Regions from separate parts of the Homo sapiens genome. Here regions 2, 3 and 4 are each linked to region 1. The links are contacts of gene promoters, found by promoter capture Hi-C in blood cells and fetal thymus (Javierre and others, 2016). All regions are on one chromosome and are shown on one strand. The core of a region is centred on a gene start or on the middle of the fragment in contact, and the rest is flanking DNA. Distances in the headings are between cores, read along the strand shown.

What was found. The method cuts DNA at HindIII sites, captures the fragments that hold promoters and counts their contacts. A CHiCAGO score of 5 or more calls a contact.
Region 2: a fragment that was not itself captured here is called in contact with the fragment with the promoter of SSH2 in region 1 in 1 of 17 cell types (fetal thymus); the score reaches 6.2 in fetal thymus.
Region 3: a contact is called between the fragment with the promoter of GIT1 here and the fragment with the promoter of SSH2 in region 1, in 10 of 17 cell types (naive CD4 T cells, naive CD8 T cells, fetal thymus and 7 more). The highest score is 11.1, in naive CD4 T cells.
Region 4: a fragment that was not itself captured here is called in contact with the fragment with the promoter of SSH2 in region 1 in 15 of 17 cell types (megakaryocytes, M2 macrophages, M0 macrophages and 12 more); the score reaches 20.1 in megakaryocytes.

The regions. Positions count from the first base shown.
Region 1 is chr17:29,926,953-29,932,189 of GRCh38, forward strand. SSH2 (slingshot protein phosphatase 2) reads right to left here and starts at 3,276. Exons shown (of 16, transcript NM_001282129.2): 1 at 2,986-3,276. The coding sequence starts at 3,048. It also overlaps a transcript of EFCAB5 not described here. RefSeq lists silencers at 2,476-2,525, 3,036-3,315, 3,466-3,555, 4,289-4,458. The HindIII fragment of the contact is 8,919 bases long and covers 1-4,010 here.
Region 2 is chr17:29,570,256-29,575,492 of GRCh38, forward strand. It overlaps TP53I13 (tumor protein p53 inducible protein 13), which reads left to right. Exons shown (of 7, transcript NM_138349.4): 4 at 1,336-1,464; 5 at 1,602-1,802; 6 at 1,887-2,442; 7 at 2,557-2,902. The coding sequence ends at 2,669. It overlaps GIT1 (GIT ArfGAP 1), which reads right to left. Exons shown (of 20, transcript NM_014030.4): 18 at 5,033-5,215; 19 at 4,824-4,887; 20 at 3,220-4,659. The coding sequence ends at 4,447. Among named protein-coding and RNA genes, the nearest start is that of TP53I13, 4.2 kb to the left of the region's middle. RefSeq lists a silencer at 2,636-2,705. The HindIII fragment of the contact is 5,000 bases long and covers 441-5,237 here.
Region 3 is chr17:29,587,107-29,592,343 of GRCh38, forward strand. It overlaps GIT1 (GIT ArfGAP 1), which reads right to left and starts at 2,542. Exons shown (of 20, transcript NM_014030.4): 1 at 2,221-2,542. The coding sequence starts at 2,272. RefSeq lists enhancers at 824-1,723, 2,623-3,522 and silencers at 1,941-2,130, 2,391-2,870, 4,631-4,820. The HindIII fragment of the contact is 9,256 bases long and covers 1-4,893 here.
Region 4 is chr17:29,637,597-29,642,833 of GRCh38, forward strand. All of the region lies in intron 14 of SSH2 (slingshot protein phosphatase 2), which reads right to left. It overlaps SSH2-AS1 (SSH2 antisense RNA 1), which reads left to right and starts at 1,905. Exons shown (of 2, transcript XR_001752823.2): 1 at 1,905-2,135; 2 at 3,065-3,305. It also overlaps the pseudogene RNU6-920P. RefSeq lists enhancers at 1,774-2,083, 1,955-2,249. The HindIII fragment of the contact is 2,200 bases long and covers 1,460-3,659 here.

The DNA of each region.
Region 1 (5,237 bases), core at 2,026-4,525:
GACACATCTGGGTTTGAATTATAACTCCAGTCACTTACTGGCTGAATGACACTGCGCATATTCCTTAATAACTCTGCCTCAGCTTCATCTTTAAGATGGGGATAAGAGCAACTTCCCTAAGGCATACTGTGTAAAGTAAATGAATTAATTCATGTAAAGCGCTTAACATGATGCCTGGCATAGATGAGGACCCAAGAAATGTTAGATATTGTTATACTCTTATTATTAACATTGCCATTAGTGAACTTATCTTAATCTGAATTCAGACAATACTTATGACCATCACAAACTCTTCAGGTACCTACAGTATCATTCCCCTTCTTCTTCTTTTCCCTCTTACCTTATGTTTGTTCTTCCTCCAATGCCCCAGCCCCCCAGATTGCAAGATCCTGATGAACAGGTCAATTTCCTATACATCTTAGTATCTACAATGGTCACTCACACCTAGCATATTGTTTAATGCCTAATGAAACAACACTAAAGAGCTGGCAGTATTAAAATGCCCTGCATCCTATAGTGTAAAAGTATTAACAGCGTACTTAAAGTGATTAATAAAAAAATGTAAATTTCCAGTCTCACAAAATTAAATCTCTTCTTTCATGGTCCTCTAGGTTCTTTTTGCTCTCTATTTTAAAACAAACAACCCAACCTATTCATACAGCAAGAGATAGAACAGCAAAATATATGGAGGTCAGACAGCAGCCAAATGCTAGAGTACAAGGACCTCGAAACAACTCAGCTGAACACAATTCTGGATGAAGTCCAATAGGAAGACAATTTAAAGAGAAAGGAAGCTGGCTTATCAGTTATACTAATGATGCTGATTGTTACACCAGCCTTAGGATTCCTTTGCATTCAGGGCCAAGTATAAACAACTGAAATAACCAGGCTAGTAGATATAGAAATATTAGTGATTTTGCTCAACAACTGAGCTTATTACATGATCAATTTAATTACCTATGTCAAAAGTGACTATTAACATACCTCAAGATTCTAAAGTAACTCAAGTTTTGGCTAATGAAGTCATATCAAGTGTACACGGTCTTACTGTATACTAATCATTCACTTCAAGTAAATTAGTATGATGACAACTTGATATACATATATTATCATAGCATAAGCTATTTTCAACAGTGCCCAAGGAAAATAAATGTTACTATAGTACTGATTTCTAGTTTATTTGCATGACTCTACTAACTTTCAATCGATTTCTTCAAAATCAGGCCTAGTAACCACAAACCAAAGAGTTTACTAGTGGAGTGAATTAAGAAGGTTTGATGGTATGTTAATGACTTTCCAAAAACTAGCATAAAGTACTACACATAAGAATAAATTATATTAAAGATTTATTCCTATGATACTTGTCTTCAGATGACCCTAAAATGTTTTACCAGCTTTGAAGTACAAGTATTCTCAAATCACAAAATCTTAGATTAGAAATAGTCTTAGAAGTCCCCCACTGCAGGAATTCTTTATACCACCTCCCAGGCAAAATGTTCTCCAGCCTTTGCTTGAATATTTCCAGCAATGTGCACTCACTATTTTGCAAGGCAGTGCACTCCACTGTTACAAATTCTTCCTTACAATCACTGGAAATCTGCCTCCCTGAACCAAGAATCCCAGTTCTGCTCTCTGAAACAACACAAGATATATAACCTTTGAAATAAAATCACTTATTAAGATATAGTTGTCAATTTCATCACACAAAATGCAATTAAAGCTCAGAAAAGAAGAAACCACAACCATACACAACAAAACTTTGAAATTCAGGAAATTATACTGAAATGACAAGCCAGCAAATTTCAGGATATCAAAGCTCACACCTCAGTTAACATACAAATATTAAGGGTAACCTGATGATTTTTTTACAGTGGAAAGTGGTACAGTGTTTATTAAATACCTTTTTTTGCAACCTGATACTACCAAATCCACCAACACCGTTTTTAAAATTACAGTTCTGTAGGAAGTTCAAGGTGGTTTTCCCAGTTGCTCGCATTTTCACTCAGTTTATTTCTCTCTAAAACATCTGGATGTTGGTTTTTTAAAGCCCATTTGCCCCACTGGTGCAATATATTGTTTTTAAAAATAAATATTTTCAAAAATGGAGCCTAAGAGAATGGAGTGTAAACGAATGGGGGTGGGGCGAGGAGAGAAGGCAAAGACGGGCCCAGCGGGGAAAGGCTGGTTACTGGGTATTTTCCTTCTGAGAGCATGCTTTATTGGCATAGGCATCTGAGGTAACGAGCCATACAAACACGACCTTAGAACAAGAATGATCACGAGCAATGAGTGTAAGGCATAAATATCTGTAAGACGGAAATAATTTGACACTGATCACTAAGCAGCACCAGATGCTTCGGGACCTCATAAAGGAAAGGTAAGAGGTCCAGGAAACAGAGATCATTGCTACCCTCTGGGGTGGGGGGCAGGCGGGAGAAACCAAGGAATAACTACGGTTGGGCAGTTCAAAGCCTGAACAGTACAGAGCAAAAGAAAGCCAGCAAGTGACTAGGGGAAGGCACACACCCTGGCGAGTACGAAGAAGGGTGTGCAGTGTGCAAATACTGAACAGGTCTATGAAATGGTGTGGGTAAGAGATGTGGGTGTGGGTAAGGGGCAACGCAGGAGGCTCACGGTCCCCTCCCTGCAGCAGAGCAACAGAGGGTAAAAGAAGGGGGAGGGTGAAAAGCAAGAATGACTCATTACCAAAAGGAAGTGCTCAAGCCATAGGGAGGCATGCCACAGGGGATTTCAGGGCGAGGATTGTGAGGAGCTAGGTGCTCAGGGTGATGGGGGCAAAAATCAACGTCTTGTAGTTCCTGCTGCTAGTCTTTAACATGGGGGTGTGGGGGGGTTCGCGGCAGCCGAGTGCCAAGGCCTGGGAAGCGGCGCGGCGCGTGCGCAGTGGCGTTCGGCGGGACCCGCTGAGGCAAAGCGGAGCCGCAGTGACAGAAGCAAGCGGAGCGGCCGCCAGGAAGGACTCACCGAGGCGCAGGGGCTGGAGGTGGTGCTGGGGGTAGGTGACCGCTGGACCGTGACCAAAGCCATCTAGGCGCTGCTGGGTTGTTCCGGGCAGGGCATTCTTGTCCTGAGTGTGGGGGACGGGAGGGTGACGGAGCCGGGATGGGGAAAGGGGTGCGGGGTGGGGGTGAAGGGAACGGGGAGGAGGAGGAGGCCGCGGGAACGGCCGCAGACTCCGCACCCACCACCAGACTGTCGCCGACTGACGCTCCGAACGGGCGGCGGGCGGGCGGTTCCGCAGCTGCGGGGCACAATGAGCGCTCCCAGTGCGCAGGCGCCACCTGTCAGCTACCGCCTCTCCCCTCGGCGCGCGCCGCCGCCTGGTCGTAACCCTTGAGTTGCCGGAAGCTGGCCGAGTGCGTGCGCCTCGGGCCGCCGCACCCTCCTGGGTTTCCTCCTTCGTGCTGGAATCGCGCGGTTTGCCAGCACTGGGTGCTGTGGAGTGGGGTGGGGGAAGGGGCCGAAGGGAGCCAGCCCGGTGAGGGGTCCCAGGGCGGGGGGCCGCTGGAGTCTTCACTCCTGAGAGACAACCATTTTATGAGGTGGGGCGGCGCACAGCTTAACCAACCTTAAAAAAAAGCAGCTGAGATGAAAATCCTGAAGCAAACACGTTTTCTATTGGGAAAGGGCTCCGCGGAGTTTCAAACCCTCTCACTGGGCGCAGACAGAACTGGGCTAGACCAGTTTACTCCCTTCACCCCGGCTCTCGGGGGCTTTTTCTTAACTTTTCCCCCCCTTCCGTCTATGTTTTATGATGAGACTTCTGGAAAGAAAACCATTTTCCGTTTGATACCCTGGAAAGGTTTGTGGTACCCTCATGCTTCCTCTATTGCCTGTCTAAAGACTTATTCATTATTCCTGAGGAGAAGAGAAGCTGAGCGCGCCTGGGAGTCCGAGGAAGCCGGTTGTGAGGGTCCAGCCTGCTATTGACCTCTCACTTGCCTCCTGCTGTGAAGACAGTCTTTTAATTAAACAGGATTTGCTCGTTAAGCTTTCTTCTCCTTCGTCTCTAAATGTCATTCTTTCATAGACCTATGTAAAAATGTAGATTAAAAGATATTTTAAGGGAATGGTTTTCTCAGGGGTAAATTGTCTGCAGAACATAAGCAAAGAATGTAATGGAAAATCAAGATTAAAAAGGAAAAAAATTGCACAATGCAAATATCACTGATTATTTACACAAAGAAAGAGAGTTGACAAGGCTATTTCTCAGCTTGAGTGGATGAGCTGGTAAATACCACCGTACATATCAAAGCTGTAGAAAACACACACACTTGGGAGTTTGCAGTTATTAAAACCCACCCCCTCCTGTTTGTCACTCAAACACTCTTGGATCTCATTGCTTCTTTTAAACTGACAGGGCTGTCATGAGCTCTTTCTGGCTGCTGTACGGTTAAACGCCACAAGAGTCCTCTGTGCTGAGCCTTTGTTCTCTCCCTGGGGCCCTGTGGTTGAAATAATTAGCAGGGAGGTTCCATCAAGAATCAGACACTGAGGGTCCCTGTACTGTACAGTCCTATGTAGAGTGTAGTGCAGAGAAGCCAGCTGGTAGGCTTTTGCCCCCTGGTGGTGATCAGGAGTGCCTGTGAGACAAAATTAAACAAAGATGTATGGTTCACAGATTAAACAATCTGACTGTGTTTTCCCCAGAGCTCCGTAGTAAACAGGAAAAGAGAAGGCAAGTTTCAGAAGTAAGAACTTTGAACCAATGCATGGGAGACCAAAGAGGAAACTAGATACATAGCCAAAAAATACACATAGCTAGAAGCTGAATGAACTCAAATAAATGAAATATATGTGCTTTATGAACCAAAGTATCATTCTAGAAAAAGTAATATTCAAATCTGTAGGTCTTAGTACTTGTATGTTGATTCTCTGACTCAGGGAGGGCAACAATGATGTTCTACTTTTTCATGGTAACATACTCTTCAGAAATTCTTTTGGAAGATGAAAGGCTTAAGTCCATTAACCTTGCAGTGAGAAAGAGCACTACCATAGGAATCAGAAGACCTGGTTTCTAGTTCCAGCTCTAAAACCTTATGCAAATGGCTTGAACTTTTTGAGCTTTAATTCCTTTATCTCTACAATGGAACCCTAACTGACAAGATTCTTGAGATAATGTATGGTAAAGTTCAGAATAAACTGTAAATAAAGCCCTCTATGCAATTAAGATAACTTTTTTTTTTTTTTTTTTTGAGACGGAGTCTCCCTTTGCC
Region 2 (5,237 bases), core at 1,691-4,190, 360 kb before region 1:
CCAGTACTTTAGGAGGCTGAGGCGGGTGGAACACCTGAGGTCAGGAGTTCAAGACCAGCTTGGCCAACATGGTGAAACCCTGTCTCTACTAAAAATACAAAAATTAGCTGGGCGTGGTGGCACACCCCTGTAATCCCAGCTACTTGGGAGGCTGAGGCAGGAGAATTGCTTGAGCCCAGGAGGCAGAGGTTGCAGTGAGCCGAGACCATGCCACTGCACTCCAGCCTGGCGACAGAGCGAGACTGTCTCAAAAAAAAAAAAAAATTCTCTGTAATAGCTCCAGGCCAAGAGTTGTTGCCTCACGCCACCTATCAGATTCCTTTCCTCAAACAGCCCTTTCATGAAGTCATTCCTCTGTTCACAAACTGTCAATGGCTCCTTATTTCCCACCTTATCGTGGCCATATTCTCCGGCCTGGCTTTTCAGGCCTTACTTAAGTAAGCTTCGTCTGACCTCTCCACATCCTTGGTTCCTCTCCAGTTGTGTCGGGCTGTTTGCCACACAAATGAGTGCCAGCCTCGCCCTTACCACAGCCCCTTTGCTCCTGTTTATTCTCCTCCACACCTGGCCTATCCTGACTCGGAGAGTGCAGCTCCCTGCCCTCCTGCCATACTCCCCCAGCCATCTTCCCAGTCCCAGCTGGCATCAGCTCCCCCTGAGACACTGCCCGATGGCATCAGCCTTTATTCCTCCCCTCCTCCTCTGAATCTATCTCTGATAATTTAACAACTAATCACTAAGTTTTATTAGTTTGCTGTTTTATTTGCATTAGTTGTTTCCCTGAGTTTCTCACACACTCCTTGCAAGCAGAGTCCAGGAGTTCTTTGGCATCTCCCACAGCATCTAGCACAGCACTGAGCACCAAGTCAACTCAATCAAAGAATAATGAATGATTGATGGAGTATTTCCATCCTGAGATTGTGCACCTGCTGCCTGCCTGCCCTGTATTTGGATGCTCTTGGGAGACTGTATAGATTGGATCGATGGTCTTCATTTGGGGGTTGCTTATGGCTTGGATTGTGGACCTGTAGAGCCATCGTTACACCTGCAGGGAAATATGGCTAGAGTGTGGTCTGAGTCTGGCAGGATTATCCAGGCATGCTGTGAGCTTTGAAGGGTGGCACTTGATGGAGAGGAAGGGTGAAAGGAACACTCAGAGGCAAGAGTGGGTACATGCCAATACCCAGGGCCCTTTGTCCTTTCCTGGGCCCTGAAGGTAGAAGAGCCATCCAGCTATCCTGGGAGTACCTTTAAACTGGTCCCCTGGATGGGAGAACTTGAGATTCTCTGGGAGGGCTCTGGGCCTGCTTTGATGTCTCTGTGCCTTTCCTCCAGGCTGAGGATGTCACCTTCCTCTACCACCCCTGTGCCCATCCCTGGCTGAAGCTCCAGCTTGCCCTCCTGGCCTATGCTTGTATGGCTAACCCTTCCCTCACCCCTGACTTCAGCCTCACGCAGGATCGGGTATGTAGCTGATGAAAGGCGCTTGCCTGGCCCTGGCAGAAGGCTATGGCCCCGTGTGCAGGGAATGGAAAATTCAAGGGTTTCCTCTTGTTTGTCCCCACCTTCCTCGTAGCTCTAACAGTTACCTCCTCTCGTAGCCCCTGGTGCTGACTGCATGGGGGCTGGCGCTGGAGATGGCCTGGGTAGAGCCAGCCTGGGCTGCCCACTGGCTGATGAGGAGGCGGAGGAGGAAGCAGAGGAAGAAGAAGGCATGGATCTACTGTGAAAGCCTTTCAGGGCCTGCTCCCTCCGAGCCAACTCCCGGTAGAGGGAGGCTGTGCCGAAGAGGGTGTGTGCAGGTGAGAGACGCTGGGCCCAGGCTTGTTGGCCCTCGGGTTCTCTGAGAGGGGCAGCAGGGTGATTGCTCTCTCTCCTCTCCTTAGGCCCTGGCTCTGGCCTTTGCTCTGCGGAGCTGGCGGCCCCCTGGCACAGAGGTGACATCTCAAGGGCCCAGGCAGCCCTCTTCTAGTGGTGCCAAGAGGCGGAGGCTGCGGGCTGCCCTTGGTCCCCAGCCCACTCGCTCAGCCCTGAGGTTTCCCTCTGCTTCCCCAGGGAGCTTGAAGGCCAAGCAGTCCATGGCGGGAATCCCTGGTAGGGAGAGTAATGCCCCATCTGTGCCCACTGTCTCCCTGCTGCCGGGGGCGCCTGGAGGCAATGCCAGCTCCAGGACAGAGGCTCAGGTGCCCAACGGGCAAGGCAGCCCAGGGGGCTGTGTCTGTTCAAGTCAGGCTTCCCCGGCCCCTCGCGCAGCAGCGCCTCCACGGGCAGCCCGGGGCCCCACCCCACGCACTGAAGAGGCCGCCTGGGCTGCCATGGCCCTGACCTTCCTGCTGGTGCTGCTCACCCTGGCCACGCTCTGCACACGGCTGCACAGAAACTTCCGACGCGGGGAGAGCATCTACTGGGGGCCCACAGCGGACAGCCAGGACACAGTGGCTGGTGAGGAGTTCCCTCCCTACCCTACCCGAGGCCCCCGCCCCACCTCGCGTCGCCCGCCGCCCCCCGTAGCTTCCCTGCCCTCCCGCCCTTGACTGCTCGGCGCCCGGCCCACAGCTGTGCTGAAGCGGAGGCTGCTGCAGCCCTCGCGCCGGGTCAAGCGCTCGCGCCGGAGACCCCTCCTCCCGCCCACGCCGGACAGCGGCCCGGAAGGCGAGAGCTCGGAGTGACGGCCTGGGACCTGCCACTGTGGCGTGCGGCTCCTCCCCGCGCCGCGAGGCCGCGACCTCTGCCACGTGGACCGCGCGCGGGGCGCTCCCTGGTGGCGATGGCGCGGCACTGGCCGAGCACTGCGGGGGCTTTCCTCCTTGTTGGTTGCTGAGTGGGCGGCCAAGGGGAGAAAAGGAGCCGCTTCTGCCTCCCTTGCCAAAACTCCGTTTCTAATTAAATTATTTTTAGTAGACTCTGGAGTTGAGCTTGTGCATCTGCCGCACAGAGACTCCCACCCGGACCCTCGTCCTAGGCCATGGAGGTGGTGTTTGAGGCAGCCCGCCCCCGCTGGCCAACCTGTCCCTGGACATGGGGCTTTAGGAATGTGCTCGTGGGAGGGTGGCGTTATCGTCATACATGTTAGCTTTGTTATTCGCAAACTAACTCTTCCACTAGACAGACGTTCCCAGCACAGGGGCTTCCCTAGGGCGGGGGTCCTGGGGCACTTGCAGTCACCCTTCATGTCTGCCACCTCCCTCCAGCCCCCATTCTCTAAGCATCAGAAACAGCTCATGGTCACTTCTTTATTTTTGATACAAATGTACATGACACGTCTTGACAGCCCACCCACCACCACACAGGTAGGGCCTGGCCCCCAGGGAAGAAGCGGGATGGGGAGAGAGCTGGTGGGTCCCACCGTCTGCCTCTCCAGCCTTCCCAGGCTGCAGCCAGGTTCCCAGGCCTCCAGAGGGTGGGACCACAGCAGGTGCAGGTAGTGATGGTGGGTGCTGGCCTTGCAGAGGTTACGGGGAGGGGACTCAGCTCCACAGCCACCAGCTGAGTCGGGGACCCCGGGGAGCCAGCCCCAGGCTCAGGTGCTCAGTCCTCCACCCTAGCCAGCACACATTCCCCCTCCACGCAGGAGCAGGAGGAGATGGAGGGAAGTGGTTTTTGATTTAAGTTCATAGAGAAGGGGCGAGAGTGGGGAGGGATCAGGGAGGCAGCTGGCAGGACCAAAACTGGCTACCCGGACAGTCCCTGGCTCCAGGTGGGGAAGGGAAGCTGATCCCCATGCTGGTCCCACTGCTCTGGTCCCCTCACCCCTCAAAACTCCAGATGGACCAGGCCTCCGGAACGGCACTGCCGCCCACACACTCAACACGCAGGCACGCGGGGGCACTCAGTTACCACAAAGTTAAAATTAAGGGGTGGGGAAGAAGAAAGAAAAAAAAAAAACAGACTTTCCAGTGTTTGCTGCTGGGGACCCCAGCACACAGGTTGGGGCCTGTGCCCTAGGCAGGGGCCATATGGCATTAAAGGGAGAGCAGCAAGGGGCTGGTGGCTACAGGGCAGGGACATCCATGGAGACTATGTACAAAGGAGGGGATGCCCCCGCTCAGCCCCCAGTAGGGCTGAACTGGCTCATGGGGGTGGGGCGCATGTACGGAGAGCTGCCCCACTTGGAGTGTCCCCACCTGCCCCTTTGCTGAGGGTGCCCTAGAAGGCGAGGGGCTGGGAGTGATGCCTTGCAGGCCCCTGCTCACTAGGAGGGGGGAGATGCTATATACAGAGGGGAGGTGCATGGAATGTGGGGGACAGAAGCTCCTGCCCCCCCACCTCCCCATCCTTAGGGGCTCGACAGGGGTGGGCACCAGGGCACCTGGCTGCCAGGGAGTGTGGCAGCACTAAGGGCACTTGTGCCAGTGGCTCTGTTGGGGTGGGGATTAATGTCTGGAGTGGCCCAGCTCCTATGGCCAGTGAGGTCCTAGGGTGCAGGTGAGGGTGTGGGGAGAGAGGTCACTGCTTCTTCTCTCGGGTGGTGATGGTGACCAGCTGCTTGGCAGCCTTGGCGATGTCATAGGCGCACTGGATCACCTGCTGAGTCAGCAGCTGGAAGTCCACTGGGGCGCCGGGCTCTGGGGGCACTGTCTTCCGGCACTCACTCTGCAGCCGGTAGGCGCTGGCGTTGAGCAGCCGCAGTGAGCTCCGCACTGGCTCCAGGGCTGGCCTCTGGAGGGGGCAGGAGTGAGGCTGGACCTTGGACTTTAAGCCACCAGCTGAGATCAGGGCCCAGTTTGTCTGTGTCTCCACCCAGGTAGCGATCAGATGGGATTCTCCACGCCTGCCCCAGCTCGAGGCCCTCCCACTCCTGGTCCTCTCTTTGGCCCCTGTACCTTTGGGAAGAGGGAGGCCATCTCGGTCACAGCCAAATGGATCTTCTCTGAGCAGGGCACGAAGCTGCGGGGAGAAGGGAGGCTATAAAGCAGGGGGCTCTCAAGGGAGGTTCCCAGGGACAGCAGAACCCAGGGCCCCTCATGCTCTCTGCAACACCCTAGAAGCCAACAGGAACTGCATCCCCCTCACCTCCCCCTCCACTCAGTACCTGTCATGCTTGAACTCCTGGGCTGCCCGCAACAGTTCCTGAATGTTCTTGGTGACCTGCTCTGTCTTCAAGATGACATCCTCTGTGCTGGGAAGCCCAGGATCTAGGTCTCCATCCAGGCTTTCCAGCTCTGGGTGGAAGTCTTCCTCTTTGCCCAGCTCTAGAAACCTCTTCCCTTCCAGCCTGAGGCCCAGGTCCAGAAAAC
Region 3 (5,237 bases), core at 1,292-3,791, 340 kb before region 1:
AGAAGCCTGTGACCCTGGGGTGGAGCGATACACCATGGGGCTGGCACTGGATCTGGACTCCGGACTGCTGGGTACCCTCATGCCTCTCTGCCTGAGATGCCACAGGACCCAGACCAAACATGCCGCTGCATGCCAGGGCCAGCATCCTAGGGTCCAGGTGTGGGATAGTCCCAAGCAGCCAGCCAGGGTCCTAACAAGCAGCCAAACACTCAGGGAGTGCCTGCCATGTGCTGGACACCTCGCTGGGTGCTAGGTGGGCTGATGAGTAAGACTGTCCACATCCTCCCCACCCCACCATCCTCACCTTCTCACCACCTTCCTGACCTCTATTGTGAATCAGGGGAAAGGAGGCATCTGGGGCACAAATTCCTCTGACAGATGAGGACCTGGGAGGAGGAGCTGGGCAATCCAACACATCTGATGCCCACCATTCCTCCCTGAGCCCACTGGGCATCCAGAGGCTGTGGTCGGACATTCAACGCAACATACAAAGGACAACTGCCTTGCTGGTGCTGCCCTTCACCCCTCCACCCCAGAATCAGACCACAGATTCGGAGATGGCAGCCCCCCAAAAACCATTTCTACTCCAACTTCTTTGCCTCTGAATTGAGGAAGCTGAGGACCCCACAGTGAGGAAAGTCTTGTTGGGATTACAGAGTAAGCTGGGAACAAAGGCAACACTAAGCCCCAGACTCCCCCGATTGGGCGCCTGCTAAGACTCTCCTCCACATTCCATGCCATGCTTACCCCACGGAGTTGTGGAACAGTGGGGAGACATTTATAAGGCAAGGTGCATCCTCAGCCCTGCCATCCCCAGACCTGCCTGCAGCTCGGGGAACGGAGTCACAGTTTCTTAGGGGTATGGACCCTCAACCCCAGGGCCCTCTAAACCATGATAAGCCCCTAGGAGGCCTTGGTCATAACCACCTATGGAGTATTTTGTGCCCAAGCCCTGCTAAGTCATAGTTCCCAAATACTCTAGCTTGGCACCCCCAGAACCACCAGAGCATCTGTGAGGCTCAACCGGTGGGGTCCTGGGCCTGCTCAAGGGGTGGCTGAAAGTTATGGGCCCACAAACCAGCACCCCATACTCTCACTCTTAATCATGCCCACAGCCCCGCTAGAGTTCACGGACCTCCGCAGCCTGCCCAGGGGCCTACCAGGGAGATAGCTCCTTTGCTAAAGAAAGAATGGATGTGGGCTAGAGCTTCCTTCCCAGGCCAGCTGCAGAGCCCCGTCACTGGCTGTCCTCCCTCATCAGAAGGGAGCAGCCTCTTGGATCATTACCCCTGACTTCCTCAGCAGGCCTGGGGGGTTTCACTCCAGCCCAGTCCTAACTCTGTTAGGAAAAGGAAGGGAACCACCATGTAAATACAGCCAGGAGACAGGCCAGGAAGCCAGCAGGATACGGGGAATCTCGGCACGGCCTCCCACCCATTTCTGGCCAGACTGGGCTAGGGGACAGGGAGGGGCCCGCACCCAGGATAGCTTGATGCCAAGCTCACTTTCCCAAGCAGGCCTTACCGGTGAACAGGAACAGCAGGGTCCAGCCGAGCTGTTCCCAGTCACCACCAGCAGGCCTGGGGATGCCTCCCGAGAAGACACCCGGGTCTAGACTGGCCCTGAACGCCAGGCCCGGCAAGGAGCGCTAGCCTTAGGAACCCGAGGCAGGGAGTCCTGGGAGTAGCCACCGCTCATCTGCTCCTGAGGAGACGGTATTCAGGCCCCACTGGCGCATCTGCCCGGCCCTCTGCTCCTTGCCCTCCACCACCCCGGCAGGCGTACCGACCACGCGAGCAGCAGGTGCAAGACGCGGGGGTGGCACTGAGATGACATAAAACCACACTCGCCCCCACCTCCCAAGCCCTGACGGCCTCCGCCACGGCCCTCCTGCCACCCCAGGCTGGCGCTTCCGTCGGATACAGAGATGGAGGTGGAGGAGCAGCCAGCTGCCCGCCTCCCTCAGACCGAGGAGCGGGAGGCGGCGCCGGGAACGTCCTTCCTCGCTAGTCCACGGCCTCCAGGGAGCATGGGCACCCCAGGCCGGCCCTCCCGCCAAGGGCGCAGCTCCGCAGTGGCCGAGGCGGGGGCCCAGCCTGGAGGCCGCAGCCCCCCGCCCCGCCCAGCCCTCCGGCCCCGCACAGCGCTCTTGCCAGGCCCCGGCGCCCGCCCGGCGGCGGCCTGGCTGTGCGGTCCCGCCCCCGGCCCCGCCGCGCTTACCCGGGGCGCTGCAGTCCGCACACACCTCCGCTCGCGGCCCCTTTCGGGACATCCTCAGCGGCGACGCGGCCGCAGCCCTCTGGGCCAGCGTGGGGGGCGCGGGCGGCGGGCCCGGGCGGCGGCGGCGGCCCCTGCTGCCCGGCCCGGCTCCGGCGAGGCCCCGGCGAGGCTCCGCGCGCCCGGCCAACCGTCCGCCCCGGGGCTGGCCCGGAACCCGCCGTGCCCGCCTGCCCGCTCGCCCTCGGGCGCCCTCCGCCCCGCGCCGCCCCGCCGCCGCTCGCGGCTCCTCTCTCCGCCCCCTGCGCGGCTCCCGGCCGCTTCTGCAGGAAGCGGCGCAGGCCCTGCCCACAGGGGGAGGGGCCGCACCCCCGCCCCGCCGCGCGCTGCCGGCCGCGCCCCCTAGAGAAAGGAAGCCCGGGCGCGGGCAGGAGGGGGCGGGGGCGCTTAAAGGGGCCGCGGCAGATGCCCGGCCCCGGCGGGCAGCGTGGCCTGCGGCCCTGGCCTCCGCTGCAGCGCTCGCCTGGCCCGGAGGCAATGTGAGTCACCCTCACAGCCCCCTCCCCTTCACTTTCCGCGTGGGGTGGACCGGGGGACGCTGGGCCCACGGACGGCGAGGGTGGGGATTAGGGAAGAAGGACTTGGAGGCCCAAGTCCCGCTCCAGGTCAAAGGGGCTGTGCCTTGGGGTACCCGTCTATCTCTGGTTGGGGTGAGGTGTGCGTCCCTGTCCCGTAGGTGTCCACATCTGTGTGTCCAGGGGTGTGTGTGTATGTGTCACACTCTTGCTGAATACGCCCACTGCTAACAATATGGACGCCCAGGTGCCAGAAAGGTCAGGCAGTGTATTCCCCTGCCTCCGGACTAAAAATATATCTATCTCTCCATGCATCCTTCCATCCAGAGAGGAGAGAATCTGGGCGGTTTTTAAAGACCTCCCGAGGAGTGACCACTGTGCCTGTGTGCACTCACATCCACTTGTCATCCGCCTTACACACACCCACGGTGTTTCTGGGCCACCAGAGGTGTGTGTGTCCAGAAAGGGTGCATATAACATAGAGGGGCCGTTTCAGGTGACGGCCTTTCTTCCTGGACTTCACACGACGAGGCAGGCAAAGGCAAGGCAGGTGAGGGACGTGGGTGGGCTGGGGGGCAGGGAGCCTAGGTAGAGGCCGCACATGAGCGCAGCCCCCGCACTGAGCATGCGCCCCCATACGCGTGTGCCGCGCGTGTACCCAACCCCCAATCCCTGCAGCAGCAAAAGGCCCGGGCACTCTGCTTGTGGGGAGAGGGTAGAGGTCCCCAGGGCCAGACCTGGGGGCCAGGTCAGTGGTGACAATTGAGGAGGGGTTCTCCAAGAGTCAGAGACTCCTGCTTGTTAAGATGGGGGCAGTCCTTTGGCAGGGGTGCTCAAGTTGGTCGATTATCCCAACGGTGCCAGAGCGGCAGTGATTTGTGGGTGGGCAGGCTCCTTCCCTAGGGGAGACAAGTAATGCTCATGAGTCACACCACCCGAAATACATGCAAAGCTGCCTCCATCGCCTTTTGCTGCGGCCCAGATTGACAAGTTTGTTTGAAATCGCGATCCATGGGCTTTATTTATAATTGCACCTTAAAAAAATCTTGCAGGCCTCCCCTCCCTCGACAGCCAGCCGCTCAGCTGGTGGGGCTTTTGCAAGCAACGATACCTAGCTGGTGTGTAGGGGGGAGCACCACCTGCCGCCCCGAGCTGCTCTCTCACCAGAGTCCATGGGCTTGGTGGCCTCAGCGGGAAGGGGGTAAGGGGCGGGGGGAGTGAGACGGGAGGAGTGGCCAGGCAGCCCGTGCCAGGCGCTCAGTCCACGAGCGGTGGCCGCCCGTTCACCCCCGATCGACCCCCAGCTATGGAATTTCATTTATTAAATGTCGAGGAGGCTGCTGGCAGCCCTGCCGCTTGGCTGTCTTTGTTTCTCCGCTGTGTGGGCGCGTCTCGAGCACGTGGCAGCTGAGAGCGCGGGCCGAAGCGCAAGCGACCTGGGTTCAGTGTCTACCGCCGCCTGGCAAAAAAAGAACACGGCCGCCCAGGGGACAGTTCCCCACAATCGACAACTCCCCACAATCCATCCTGAACTCCCCCTGTCCTCGGACTCCTGGGCTTTGCTGGGGAAGAAGGATGATTCACTCTGCTTACCCCTCCACCCCACTCCCCATCTCCTGGTTGGCTCAGAGACTACCTGGGAGTGGCCCTGGCGCGGACACATCGTCCAAACTTTGTTTCCCCCAGCCCCGTCACAGCCAAACTTCTGGGCCTGGGACTGGAGATAAAAGGGTTTCTGGATTCCCCCGTGGAGATGTCACCACCCCAGGAAGCAGGACTGCTACAGTGGAATCACACACAAGGTTCGAAAAACAATTTAATAAGGAAATGCACAGGCATGCTCCCGGCCACTCCTAGATGCCCCTCAACCGCGCCAGCCCCCTCCCCTGCACTGGCTGCAGCCACGACACTCTGCTGACCCCTGGTGGTGCAGGCGGGCAGCGGTCCCGGGCCCCCGGAGACGCCAGCTGGCTCCTCCCAGGCGGGAGAAAGGGGCGAGGCAGCCCGCTCCTCCCTCATCTCTTCCCGCTGGGGCCTGGCACCACAGGGTGTGGAGGAGGAAGGAGGGAAGACCACACAAAGAAACCTGAGAGAGTTTGCAAGCTTTTGCTGGCACCTCCCACACAAACACTTCTTGGATTGTTGTTTTAAGTAGGGCCGGTGTGGAATCCCTTATTCCTGCCTTGTTCTGAGGTGGGCTCAAGAAGGCACCGTGCCTGGTCCCGCCACCTGTCTCGGCCCGCCTGGTTGGGGGAGGGAGGCGCTGTTTCCAGGGCAGTCATTATCCTTAGCTCACCCCAGGAGGTAGTATCTAGATTCTCATTTTGAAGGGGAGTGGACCGAGAAAGTCGGAAAAATTAAGCAGTTTGCTCTTTTAAGGTCAGGCAGTTGGAGCTATTCGAACTCTGGTCTCTCTGACATCACAGTCCCCTCCCTCCAGGGACT
Region 4 (5,237 bases), core at 1,310-3,809, 290 kb before region 1:
CATGGTAAAACTCCATCTGTACAAAAATATAAAAAATTATCCAGGTGTGGTGGCGTATGACTGTAGTCTTAGCTACTCAGGGGGCTGAGGTGGGAGGATTGCTTGAACCCAGGAGGGTGAGGATGCAGTGAGCTGAGATTGTGCCACTGCACCCAGCCTGGGTGACTGAGTGATCCCTTGTCTCAAAAAAAAAATAAAAAATAAAAATAAAGAAAGATATATACAGATATTTACTGGCCGGCTGCCGTGGCTCATGCCTGTAATCCTAGCACTTTGGGAGGCTAAGGCGGGCGGATCGCTTGAGGTCAGGAGTTCGAGACCAGCCTGGCCAACATGGTGAAACCCCGTCTCTACTAAAAATACAAAAATTAGCTGGGAGTGGTAGCGGGCACCTGTAATCCCAGCTACTCGGGAGGCTGAGACAGGAGAACTCCTTGAACCCGGGAGGCAGAGGTTGCAGTGGGCCGAGATTGCACCAATGCACTCCAGCCTGGGTGACACAGCGAGACTCCATCTCAAATAAACAAACAAATAAACAAAAAAAGATATTTACTATGACACTATTTGTGATACTAAAAGATGAGACACCAAACAACAACAAAAAAGGATTTACATTATAATCCATACAACTATATGCTGTGGAGCTGTTAAAAGCTGTCAGGTCTACAGAAATCTTCTGTGGTAAGAAAAAAAAAAAACTAAAAGGAAAAAAAAAACCTGTCAGGTATTTTAGTGGAATGATATACAAGGTATACTATTCAGTAAAAAAAAAAACCTCAAACACATTTGAAATTAGTGTCTATGTTAGAATAATATAGGAAAAAATCTGGAGGAACATCACCAAACTGATAATAGTGATTCTTTCAAGAAAGGTAGAAATACTTCTGGGGAAGGCTTTTACTTTCTATATTTTACACACACACACACACACACACACACACACACACACACACACACACACACACAGAGACAGGGTATCACACTGCCACCAGGCTGGAGTGCAGTGAAACGATCAGAGCTCACTGCAGCCTCAACCTCCTGGGCTCAGGTGATTCTCCTGCCTCAGCCTCCTTTTAGTAGTAGCTGGGACTACAGGTGTTTGCCACCACGCCTGGCTGATTTTTTTATTTTTTATTTTTGTGGAGATGGGGGTCTCACTATGTTGCCCAGGCTGGTCTTGAACTCCTGGGTTCAAGTGATCCTCCTGCCTTGGCCTCAGGGATTATTGGAGTGAGCCACCAAGCCTGGCCTCTATATTTTTACAATTTTTGAATTTAAAAAATGGGCATGTTTAAAAATTATAATCAGAAAAAAACCTACTAAAATCAAAACATACAAGTAACACAAAGGGAATACTCTGTTGGAACCTATTACCAAGTCCTCATAACTAGGATGAAGAACTGATGGTAAGCATTCTGGAATCAGAAAGCAAAGGAACGGCTAGTAAATTTGGAGAGAAAGCTTAGTAACAGAATGAAGGGAACAGCATAAAGGATAGGCCCTTTCAGAAGAATCTCTGGGTAAAAATCATTAAGCTAAGGAGACACGTGGAAAAAGCAGGTGGGCCAAAGGAAGACTCCCCTCCATCACCATTTTATGAAAGAGGTCTGAGGTAGGGAGGAGATTTCATTTCAAACCACACACTCTTAAACAGTTCCCAAAACCCCAGCCAAAAAGAGAACGGTGGCCCTTTTGTTGGTCAGGTTCATCTGCCCAGGAAACAGGTCACTAAGTATGGTCCTTGGGGGTGTGGTCTCCATGACTTACAAGCTGATGAGGAGTTACCAAACCGCAGGGTGGAATGGGAAACTCAGCCCAAAACAACTTGCCCTGGGCTCCGGGCCACGCCTGGGCTCTGCCGAGTCATGCTCAGGCGCCTGCACTAATGTGACCCCCTGTTTGTTCTCAACTCTGCACCTGCTCTCAGCTCCCCCTGCCTGTCTGCTGCTTGGGTGGGGCTCTCTCTGACTCATGCCTGCACAGCAAAGGGGTGCTTTCCTGGGAAGGAGCAGGTCAATCTTTTTATGAAGACAAGCTGTAATCAATCAGCTGGGTATAAGATGGGGTTTTCACCCTTTCCAAGCTGCATGAGCTCCAGCCACCCCTAGGAGGAGACAACATATCACGCATCTCAAGTGAGTGGCTGTGGGGAGGGGCAAGCTGACTGTTTGGATAGGTGGGGCCTAAGTTGTACATTATGACCAACTGAGGCCAGTGGTTTCCTTTTAAAGTTTCTTCTCTTATATGCAGACATCCTTGTTTCCTGAAATAAATATGAGTGTATTCCCCAATTTCTATCCCTCACCTATCATGAGGATGTTCAAACCTGCACCAGCTTCTCTCACCCACCATAGTAGGACAATGCCTGGGATGCAAATCACTGGGAAGACCTCTCAGGGGGTGGCTGTTTTCACTCTTCTAATAACAGAACAGGCAAAATGAGAAGTTTAATGATCCCAAGAATCCTCCAAAGTATGTTTTTTTTTTGTTTTTTTTTTTTGAGACGGAGTCTCGCTCTGTCACCCAGGCTGGAGTGCAGTGGCGCGATCTCGGCTCACTGCAAGCTCCACTTCCCGGGTTCACGCCATTCTCCTGCCTCAGCCTCCTGAGTAGCTGGGACTACAGGCACCCGCCACCACGCCTGGCTATTTTTGTATTTTTAGTAGAGACGGGGTTTCACCGTGTTAGCCAGGATGGTCTCCATCTCCTGACCTCGTGATCCGCTTGCCTCAGCCTCCCAAAGTGCTGGGATTATAGGCGTGAGCCACCACGCCCGGCCCCTCCAAAGTATGTTTTTTAAACTGCCTGCAGATCACTAATCAGTCAGGAGAGAATGAGAGACTGAAGTTATGCTAATAGGCAGCAACAGTGCATGTTTCAGAGGAAGTCTGACATCGCAGCTGTGTAACCAGCAGGGATTTCCTTCTCTTCCTTGGGGAGAAAATCATCAGAAAATACTGGGCCAGGGCTCTGGAATTAAACTGACACTTGTAAAAGAGAGAGAAAAAAAAAACAATCTAAAGATAGGTCTGATGCTGCTGCCTTGTTTTCATTTTTGCAATAGGACCTGGAGGGAGAATGGCAAGCAGCTGATTCATCTCCATTGCCTGTGAAACACTGCTACTCCACGTGTCACTTCTCACTCAGGGGTCCCCTCCTCACTCCTCCCTACTCAAGGGTAACCTCCATCCTGAATTTTGTGCTTATCATTCCCTTTTTTTTTCTTTATAGTGTCAACATGTTTTGTTCCTAATACTGCTTTGTTTTGCATGTCTTGAACTTTATATAAATGGTATCCCACTGTATATATTCTTCACCAATGGATTTTTTTTTTAAAGATTCATCACTGTGTATAAAGGTAATCCACAGAGTGTAATGAGTATGCCACAATTTATTTCCCTTCTGTTGGTTCAAGCAATTCTCCTGCCTCAGCCTCCAGAGTAGTTGGAATTATAGGCATGCGCCACCATGCCTGGCTAATTTTTGTATTTTTAGTAGACACAGGGTATCACCATGTTGGACCAGGCTGGTCTCAAACTCCTGACCTCAAGTGATCTGCCCGCCTCGGCCTCCCAAAGTGTTGGCATTACAGATATGAGCCACCACGCCTGGCCTCATCATGTTTTAGTCGGTTACACTAAACTGTTTTTTTCCAATGAAGCTTTGTCCTGAGACAGTTTATTCTAACACTTCATCACTGGTAGGAATAGATGTAATGTATTAGATCATATCTATTATTTTAAACTATTAAATTTTAAACTCGGCCGACTCCCCACCTCCCACCCCCTTCCAGGCAGGCAGCAAATAAACAGCTTGCCAAAAAGGAACTTCAGAGTTGGTCTGTATCCTGGATGATATAACCAAGTCTCAGATCCTTTTCCCCCTTGAGTGGCCTCTGACCTGAATTTGGATTCATATAAAGACACAGACATACATAAGGTGATGAGGTCATTCTGGGAAATAATTGGCCTTTTACCTAGTTAATGAACAAGAGGAAATTTTATTTTTATTTTTAAATATTTTTAAGTTGTCAGCCTTGTGTAGGGGCCATGCCAATCTTCTCTGTATAGTTCCAATTTTAGTGTATGTGCTGCCCAAGTGAGCACAAGAAGAAGGAAATTTAAATGACAGATGCATAAGTCGTCCCATTATCTTGCCTCCACTTTCATATTGTTACGTGTTTGGTGAAACATCAACTCTGAGAAAGTTATATAAAGGAAAAGGCTGCTAAAAATGGAGTACTTGCGCCTGTAATCTAGCTACTCAGGAGGCTAAAGCATGATGATCACTCCTAGAGCCTAGGAGTTGAGTGAGACTAGCCTGGGCAATATAGACATTGTCTTTTTTTTTTTTTTTTTTAAAAAAAGAGGGCCAGGAGTTATAGTAAAATCAGGCTGCCTATAGTTACTTTTTGGGGTATTAGGCAGCCTGTATAAAGGAAGAGAAAAAGCATTATCTGAATATTTTTTTGTGTGATGTGCATCGCCCAAGATGCTTTAAGATTATTTAACTGGAAAGCTAGTAAGAAAATCCTTTTAAATCTCCATTGCTCTTGGCTGTCACCTGACCAGGAGTCCACATCTTTCCTTCTCAGGTTGCCTACTGCCAGCTGACCAATGTGCATCAGCTAACTAGACCTCAGTGTCTCCACCAGCAAAGCCAGGGTAAAAGACAACCCTGCCTCCTCTGGCCCTTGTGACAGGGGCACTCAAAGAATCAAAACTGACATTTCTGAGGAAACATGGCACAGACTCTCCCTGGTCACCACCCAGGTTTTTTTCCTTGCCCCCTATACACTGAAACCTAATACCACAGACACACGGTCCAACTTGCAAATGGTCTGCTTGAAATCTAAACCTCTCTAATGGAACATAAATCTGCCAGATACCTGCATGATCAGAGTGCAGAATAACAAACAGGGCTGCTGGCAGTTTAATGGAGTTTTAAAACACAGGCACACACACAGACACCACCCCCCCCACCGCCTCTTGTTTTGCTCCCATCCCCCATCTATAAAAACAGAAAAAATAAAATCAGATATAAATGCTATAAGTAGCTTTATGATACCCTTCTTTTTAGGTCTAAAGGGAAATATTAAACATTAGCCTTCTCCAGGCTCTTAATGATATACTGGGAGGTGCAAAAAGTCCCTTGTATTTCAGAGGGGCTTGGCCCATACCCTCATACTCTGATTAAGACTGTAACCAATTCACAAATCAGTACAGGAGCCTGGAGTC